Regions from separate parts of the Homo sapiens genome. Here region 1 is linked to region 2. The links are contacts of gene promoters, found by promoter capture Hi-C in blood cells and fetal thymus (Javierre and others, 2016). All regions are on one chromosome and are shown on one strand. Each heading gives the region's core, a stretch centred on a gene start or on the middle of the fragment in contact. The rest is flanking DNA. Distances are from core to core; before and after follow the strand shown. Region 1 overlaps METTL22 (methyltransferase 22, Kin17 lysine). Region 2 holds the start of ALG1 (ALG1 chitobiosyldiphosphodolichol beta-mannosyltransferase).

Region 1 (3,973 bases), core at 1,150-3,649, 3.6 Mb before region 2:
TAGAATCTGAACCATGCCAGGGACACGGTTTAAAAAGCCTGGGGCAGAGCCTCCCAGGATGAAAGGGACAGGGACTCGCTGGGCAGGCTGAAGGCTTGTGTGCTTGTGCGTGGAGGGGAAGGGGTGTCTGTGGTCTACAGACCCCAGGCCCTCTGTGTCAGCGTCCCTGCCCAGTTCCTCTTCCCCAGTCCCACCCATGCCATCTCCTGGGTGTGGCTCGTAGCCTCCTCTCCTCTCCTCTCCCTCCATTGGCCTGGGAAAGCTTCCTCCTTGCCATCTGCTCCCTAACCCCAGCTGTCCTAAGGGTTCCTGCTGCCAGGGGAACCTTCTCATAGTGATCTTGGTCCTATGTGATTGGTCACTTCCTTCCAGGGGTCTCGTGGACGTAAGTTCTGCCTCCCAGCTGTCCTCAATGGGTGGCTAGCTTCCCTTGAGGGAGAATGAGGACTCTGAGGTCAGAGACCTGTATGACAACCCAGTTTTGTCATTTCCTAGCTGGGTGACAAGTCACTTAACTTCTTGGAGACAGAGCTACAGTTTCCTCTTTTGCAAAATGCAGAAGTAGCCTCATCCCTCATTTCTAAGGCTGTAACAGTGTTTAACCAGACAGCGCTTCTGAGAGAGCACAGGCTCGGCAGACATCTGAGAACCATTGAGGTGGTCAAGGACCCCAGCCCTTGCACAGGTGGAGATCACTGAAGCCCAGAAGGGGGACATGACCAGCCCAGGGTCATAGTCTGAGAAAAAAACATCTAATTAGATCAAAATGTGTCGAGATGGCCGGGTAGTGGCTCACACCTATAATCCCAGCACTTTGGAAGGCTAAAGCAGGAGGATCGCCTGAAGCCAGGAGTTTGAGACCAGCCTGGGTAACGAAGTGCAAAGTGAGACCCATATTTTTCTAAAGCCAAATAGAAACAAAAGAGGATTTAAAATGAAGTCATTTGGGAGTCTGACCAAGAACTGATCTAAGATGTGCTTTCTGCTGATGCTGATAACACGAGAAAACACCAGGGCGAATTGATAAGGGAGAGAACAAGAGGCTCAGGGATGGATCAAAGGAAGAAGCGGATGCTGTGCAACTCCCTGGGGCCAGATGGAAAAAGCCAGAATGAATTCCCCAGGAAGCTGAGTGTGGCCGACCTTAAGGGCACTCTCCTTTCTTGTGTCTGACATCCTCGACTCCGGAGTGCAGAGATTCCGAGGTCTACCCGACCCCTGCCCCGTTTCAGGCACTTGCTAGTGTTCGAATGGGTAAATATGCTTCTTCATGACTCATCAGGATAGTCAGAGATCACAACAAATGCCCAGTATGTCAGCCCTGGGCCGGGCGCGGTCCAGGTGGCTGCATAGGGGTGAGGAAGAAGGATTCAGTCTAGGGGTGGAGGCCCAGGTGACTTAGGGACCTCCCTACCCAGGGCCATCTTGGGGCTCCCACTCCTGTGAAAAGTCAGAGTTTATATTTAAATAATCCCAAAGGTATCATGAGAACATAAAAGACCAGCCTGAGGAACTATCCCCATGAGAAACTCTAGGGCTAGCAATGGGATGAGACAGTGTTAGAATCTCACCTGTCCTTATCAGATTCTAGAATTACGTCTTATCTCATTTGCAAACTGGGTCTCTAGACCTGCAGGAACCTAGACTGTTCGTCAGCCAGTCTCCCTCCTCCCAGCTTGGGCCAGTCCCCAGGACAGAGGCTTACATTTACGGAACACTGAATCCGTGCCAGGCATTACGCTAAGAGCTTTGTATGTGCTGTCTCTCTGAATTCCTTACAACTGGAGGAGGTTGTACCCCTTGTACAGACAAGGAAACTGAACTCAGAGAGGCTAAGCGACTTGCCCGATTCTCCAGCAGGAAGGCACGGGACTCAGAATCTGACGGCCTGAGTTCCAGCCCTGCCTTTCTCGAGTTCTCTTGGGGTCTCACTTTATTTCTACAGTGGGGGAATTGAACATAATTTCTTTTGAATCCTGGGTCTGTGGATTCCTGGCAGATCCCTGGATAAACTTTTTAAGGTTTTGTCAATCCCTTGGAATAGTTAAGAAAACACCTATTTTTCTTTTTCTTTAGAAAAACCAGTTTCTCAAATGGGTCTATAACTTGAAAAAAATGGGTTGATTTACGGGTCAGAGGAAAAGGGTTGTGAGGCGAATGACGTCTGCTTACCATCAACTCTGCGCCAGGCCCTGCTCCTGGCGCTCACTGGGCATGTTTCAATAAATTATCACTAAAACCCAGGGACAGTGGTTCCCCTGATCACGTGGTTCTGACCATGTGGTTCTGAGTGGGTAAGACATTTGTCTCTGGTCACCTGGCTTGTGAAGATGGAGCTGGGCTCAAAATCCAGCCCTGCAGGATTAGATCAAGTTTTGCAGATGAAAGTGCTCTAGCCAGTTTGAAATAATCACGAATTACTACCTAGGTTCATGCATTAGCTACCATTCCACTCTCCTCCGTCAGGGCAGGTAGTGAGTGACTGACAGCTGAAAAAGTGAACTTCCAGGTATACAGACAAGGGGGCCTCACCGTGAGGTCACCGGAACAGGGCAGGAGGGGAAGCTGGTCACAGGCCAGCCTCTTCCCGAGGGACTTTGTTCTTAGCTCATACAATGGTAAATTCCCAGAACATTCACTACAGACACAACAATTCACTGTGGAGTAACTGACAGGTTTGCTCCCCAGCTTGGGGAGGCTAATAACAGTGAGGGCTCAGAGGGAAATGAGCCATCGTCGGCCCCCCTGAGAAGCAGGACTTTCCAAGCCTCTTTCGAAAGCTCTGCCCCCATGATGTGGAATGACAGCACAGGCTGTGGCGTCAGACAGACCTAGGTACAAGTCTCAGCTCTGCCACTGACTAGCTGTGTGACCCCAGCAAGTTCCTCAACCTCGCTGAGCCTCAGTCTCTTCCTCTGTGAAATGGGAATACTCATCCCTATCTGCAGAGGCCATGAGGGCAGAGGTCACCCATGGGATACATGGAACTGGGTTCTGGTATGAGTTCCACGTTGCCCTCTCTGGGACAGTCTAGAACAGAGGCTGCTTGGTACCACCGTGGAGGCGCTTAGTAACTGTTTGCTGAGCAGATAGATACAGAGCTGCTGTTTTGTCTGTTTTTGAGAGTGACCCACTGACCCCCATTCTCTGACCAAAGGCCAGTGCTGGGGGAGGCCTTTCCCTGGGAACTCAAGACACCATCGGGGACCCTGGATCTCAATGAACGGCCTCAAATCACAGCTCCGCTCCCCAAATGAGCAGCGCCAGGGGGAGGCAAAGCCCTGGTGTGGACACTGTGTGGATTCGAAGCTCGCTCACCACCACCAAGCAGCATGGCGCTAGGCCTTTCACTTCCTCATCCATGCACCCCCTCAGGAGGGGTTGTGCAGACTAGGCCACTCGATACTAGTGAAGATATCCAAAACACGATAGGTGCTTAACCAGGACCGATCACTTCCTGGCCCAGCTCCCTACTGCTCCCGGTGTTTCTAGAGTGCCAGGTCCCTAGATTTCAAATCCTAGAGTCAGCAAACCCCTCTGCTCTGCCCCCATACCTGGGTAGCAGTTCCTCTTTGATCCCACCTCTGAGTATCTGTCCAAACCTCTCTCCTGTCCCACTTTTCCCGCCACTTCATCACTCCCCTTTCTTACCTGGCTTCTAGCTCCCAGCTCCCAGTCCATCTGACTGGTCCACGCCCCATTCATTTTCATTTACATCCCTCTCCCTCTGCCACACTCCAGCTCCAGAACCTCCCATGGCTCCCTACTGCCAGCCCAGCCAGGCCAAGCCTGTCCCACACCCCCAACACGCTGAGTTAGAGCAAGAGCACAGATGTGGGAGGCAGCAGCAGGGAGGCTTCCTGGAGGAGGTGTGGCTGAGCTGGAAACTGTACGGCAATGGGGAACATGTTAAGGGAGCAGAGGCTGGGAGCAAGCACTCCAGCAAGGAGGCACAGCACAGAGAAGAAAGCGC
Region 2 (3,680 bases), core at 4-2,503:
TTTCAAACGAACACCCCCTGCCCCCAGCCCATGGATTCAGAGGATTCTGGAGTTGACGGCATCCTACCTGCAAGACTCTGAAGTTCTGTCAACCCCACAATCTGAATTCTGTTGTTCTGCAAGAGCTCATCATGGGGTTTGGAGTCTGAAAAATGAGAATGATCCCTTTAATGTACCAGAAGCAGCAATCTAAAGTCAGATAATCTCCCAACTCAGGCTGAATCACGGACAGTGTTTTGGAAAGTAAGATATTTCAAAACCTCTCTCTGCTCCTCACTAGCCAGAACAGAGAATGCGGCCAATTCTTGTTCAGATTGCTCTAGGAGGCACACAGAGATAGGGCCTGAATCTTACCTACCTTCACTTAACATGATGCCTGGCAAACAGTAGGTGCTCAATTAAACTAATCTAGATTGTCTGGATAGTGGAATTTTCCCACCACAGAGCCATCCCTAGGAAGTCCCACTCTACCCCATCACCCTAGGATAGCAGATTCTAAACAGGGATTAAAGGCAACTAGTGCTGTTCCCACTTCTTCCTGAGATGGGGTTGAGCTACCCTCTCAAGATACCAACGTGGAGAATAATGAGGGAGCAGACACCGCTGCCCTGCACACTGTGGGGAAAAGCTGGACATGAAGAACAAATGAAAACATCTGTCTGCAGAGCTCTGCGTTGAGGGATGAGGAATGAAATATCCTGTCAGCTCAGACATAGCCTGACAAGGGTAGCTGCACAGGGACGTAGCTACCAGCACTAGCCCTGGAGTTCCACGCACCTGGGTTCCACTTACTAGGAGAATTACGTGAGACCACGCAATGGATTCACTTAACACACTTCTGACACGTGGCAAGATTAACGCCGGCTATACCTAGAGACCCACCCAGGAAAGGCTGGGGCAGAACCGCTCGTCTAATCTCGGAGAGCTGCCCAAAGGCGGCGACTAAAGGAGCACTTCCGCCTCGACTCCCCGGGGCGGTTAGAACCGAGGATCAACGGCTGAGAGAGCATCGTCCCTCCCAGACCCTTGGCCACTCACTGCAGAACCCCAGGAGGGTCACCGAGAAGCCGTGCATGGCCAACGACAGCGCGTGGTACTGCATACGGGGGCTGCGGCCCACGTCGCCCAGCACCACCGCTACTACATGCCGGGCCGCCCGCCCCCGGCGCCAGCGCTTCCATCCTCCCAGCAGCAGCAGCGGCAGCAGCAGACACAGCGCCAGCAGGACCAAGCATGAGGCCGCCATCTTGGCTGGCCCGCAGCAGTCACGTGACCGCGCTTCCTCGCGCTGTGCGCAGCCGCAGACCGAGCCTCCGAAGTGGGCCGAGAGGGCGAGAAGTGGACGCGGTTCCCTAACAGGGGCCCGGGGAACCCCCAGGAGCCCCTCGGGGCCAAGAATTAGTAGTAGTAGGACACACGCACATACACCAGATTCCCTACACACCAGTGTATTTCCCCGACTAAAGTAAAGCTGTTACTGTATTGGGATCTAAGAACTCTCTTCAGGATTCAAAGATAATTTCAAAATATAGTGACACAAGAATTTGGATAAATTTCATCCTAACATTGATAAAGGAGCCAGATGCTGACGAGTACGAATTGTAGAGTTCCGTCTATGTAAATAAAAACCAGTCCTCGCTGTTAGAAGTTAGGGGCTGGTGGGTTCTGCTTCTGGATCTGGTGCTGGTAATGTGGGTGTGCTGCATTTGGGGCGGTACCTCAAGCAGCAGATTACCTGCCCATTTTCCAGGGTGTACATCACACTTAATAAAACATTTAAAAGGTAGAGAGGGGGAAGGACAAACAAGGAAGTAAACACCATCATGATTTTGCTTAAGTATCAATGGCTAGAAAGGAAATTTCCACAGTGACCCTCCAATTTCACCTCCCAAAGTAGCCATAGTGAGAGTTTAATGTGTGTCTCTGCGATGGCCTGTATTAGTCCGTTTTCATGCTGCTGATAAAGACATACCCGAGACTGAGCACTTTACATAAGAAAGAGGTTTCATGGACTTACAGGTCCACATGGCTGGGAAGGCCTCACCATCATGGCAGAAGGCAAGGAGGAGCAAGTCACCTCTTACATAGATGGCAGCAGGCAAAAAGAGAGCTTCTGCAGGAAAACTCCTTTTTATAAAACAATCAGGTCTCGTGAGGCTTATTCACTATCACGAGAACGGCACGGGAAACACCTGACCCCATGATTCAGTTACCTCCCACTGGGTCCCTTCCACACAACACATGGGAATTCAAGATGAGATTTGGGTGGGGACACAGCCAAACCGTATCATGACCTTTTTTCTTTGAAAGCGGTCCCTTGCAGAGAAACACCAAGAGCTCACTGGTGATGCTACCCCATTGCCTCCACTTGGGAGCTGCCGCAGAACCTGGAGAGCCACCACCCAGACCGTATTCAACAAACAAACAAGACTCCTCCCCTGATGAGGACCACAGGCAGCACCCACGGGACAGGGTAGCCCACATGGATGTGGCTCCCCAGTGTCCCTGGGCTCAGCTCAGGGCTTGGCACACTTTGCATCTGCTTTTCACAATTGCCCCATCACTCCCTTTCTATGGATTCAGAAGGGACAGCTCACGCCTTAAGCCAGACCTTGAAACCCGAGCTTTCAGAAGGAAAGGAAGGACGAGTAAGTATCTGCAGACAGCAGGGATGGGCATACAAACATGCTGGCAGCGGCATTTATCCTCCAGTTCCCAGCGAGGCCCCTGCCTCCAGGTTGCGTGTGCTGGGGTGGAGGCCTGTGACACATCGCCTGCCCAACTCTGTCGACGCTCTGTAATGGGACAGGTAGGGATCTGGGACCTCAGCCTCAGGACTCCTGGCTTTCCTGCTCCACCTCGGGCGAGTCACTCCCCATCAATTTGCTTTCTTCGTCTGTGAATTAAGGGAGGGGAACTTCAAGTCTTTGAGAGCCTGTCCTGCTCTGATGAGCTAAGAGGATAAAGACTATGGTGATGACAAACCAAAAGTAGATGCCTCCCTCTGGTAGGTGAACCTCCGTCGGGGAGGGAGTTGCCGTGGTGTCTCCTGGAGAGAGGGGACGGAGCCATCCCCAGCAGGGGGGCGGTTTCATAGCTGGGCCAGCCCACCTGTCCGGCTTTCTCACTTGGCATCCATTCCACATGAGATCCAGTCTTTCCAACAATCAAGAGGATATATGGATAAGTCACTCAATCTCCCTTGGAGCCTCAGATTTTGTTCAAGTTGACTGAGCACCCACTTGAGGGGTGATCAAGGATTAACAGAAGTAATGACAATGACAAGCTTCCCCTAGAACCTCTGTTCCCAGTGGTGCTCCCAAGGGGGCAAAAATGGCTCTTGGGGAGCAAAACATCCTTACCCTTTTTATGTATAAAGCACAGATAATGATACAATACACAAGCATGCAGTATATCTGCAGTATTAAAATTTTATGAAGGCTGAAAGCAGTGGCTCATGCCTGTAATCCCAGCACTTTGGGACGCTGAGGCGGAAGGATCACTTGAGCCCAGGAGTTCAAGACCAGCCTGGGCACCATAGTGAAACCCCATCTCTACAAAGAATACCCAAAAAATGGTGGTGGCGTGTGCCTATAGTCCCAGCTACTCGGGAGACTGAGGTGGGAAGATCACCTGAGCCCAGGGAGGTCGAGGCTGCAGTGAACCATGATCATACCACT

What was found. Contacts are between HindIII fragments. The CHiCAGO score rates a contact against its expected background, and 5 or more counts as called.
Region 1: a contact is called between a fragment that was not itself captured here and the fragment with the promoter of ALG1 in region 2, in 1 of 17 cell types (M1 macrophages). The highest score is 7.6, in M1 macrophages.

What each region holds. Positions count from the first base shown.
Region 1 is chr16:8,629,309-8,633,281 of GRCh38, reverse strand. The region is part of intron 3 of METTL22 (methyltransferase 22, Kin17 lysine); the gene reads right to left. Among named protein-coding and RNA genes, the nearest start is that of METTL22, 9.6 kb to the right of the region's middle. The HindIII fragment of the contact is 4,270 bases long and covers 265-3,973 here.
Region 2 is chr16:5,069,416-5,073,095 of GRCh38, reverse strand. It overlaps ALG1 (ALG1 chitobiosyldiphosphodolichol beta-mannosyltransferase), which reads right to left and starts at 1,253. Exons shown (of 13, transcript NM_019109.5): 1 at 1,039-1,253; 2 at 68-145. The coding sequence starts at 1,246. RefSeq lists enhancers at 794-853, 1,024-1,133, 1,164-1,223. The HindIII fragment of the contact is 10,202 bases long and covers 1-3,288 here.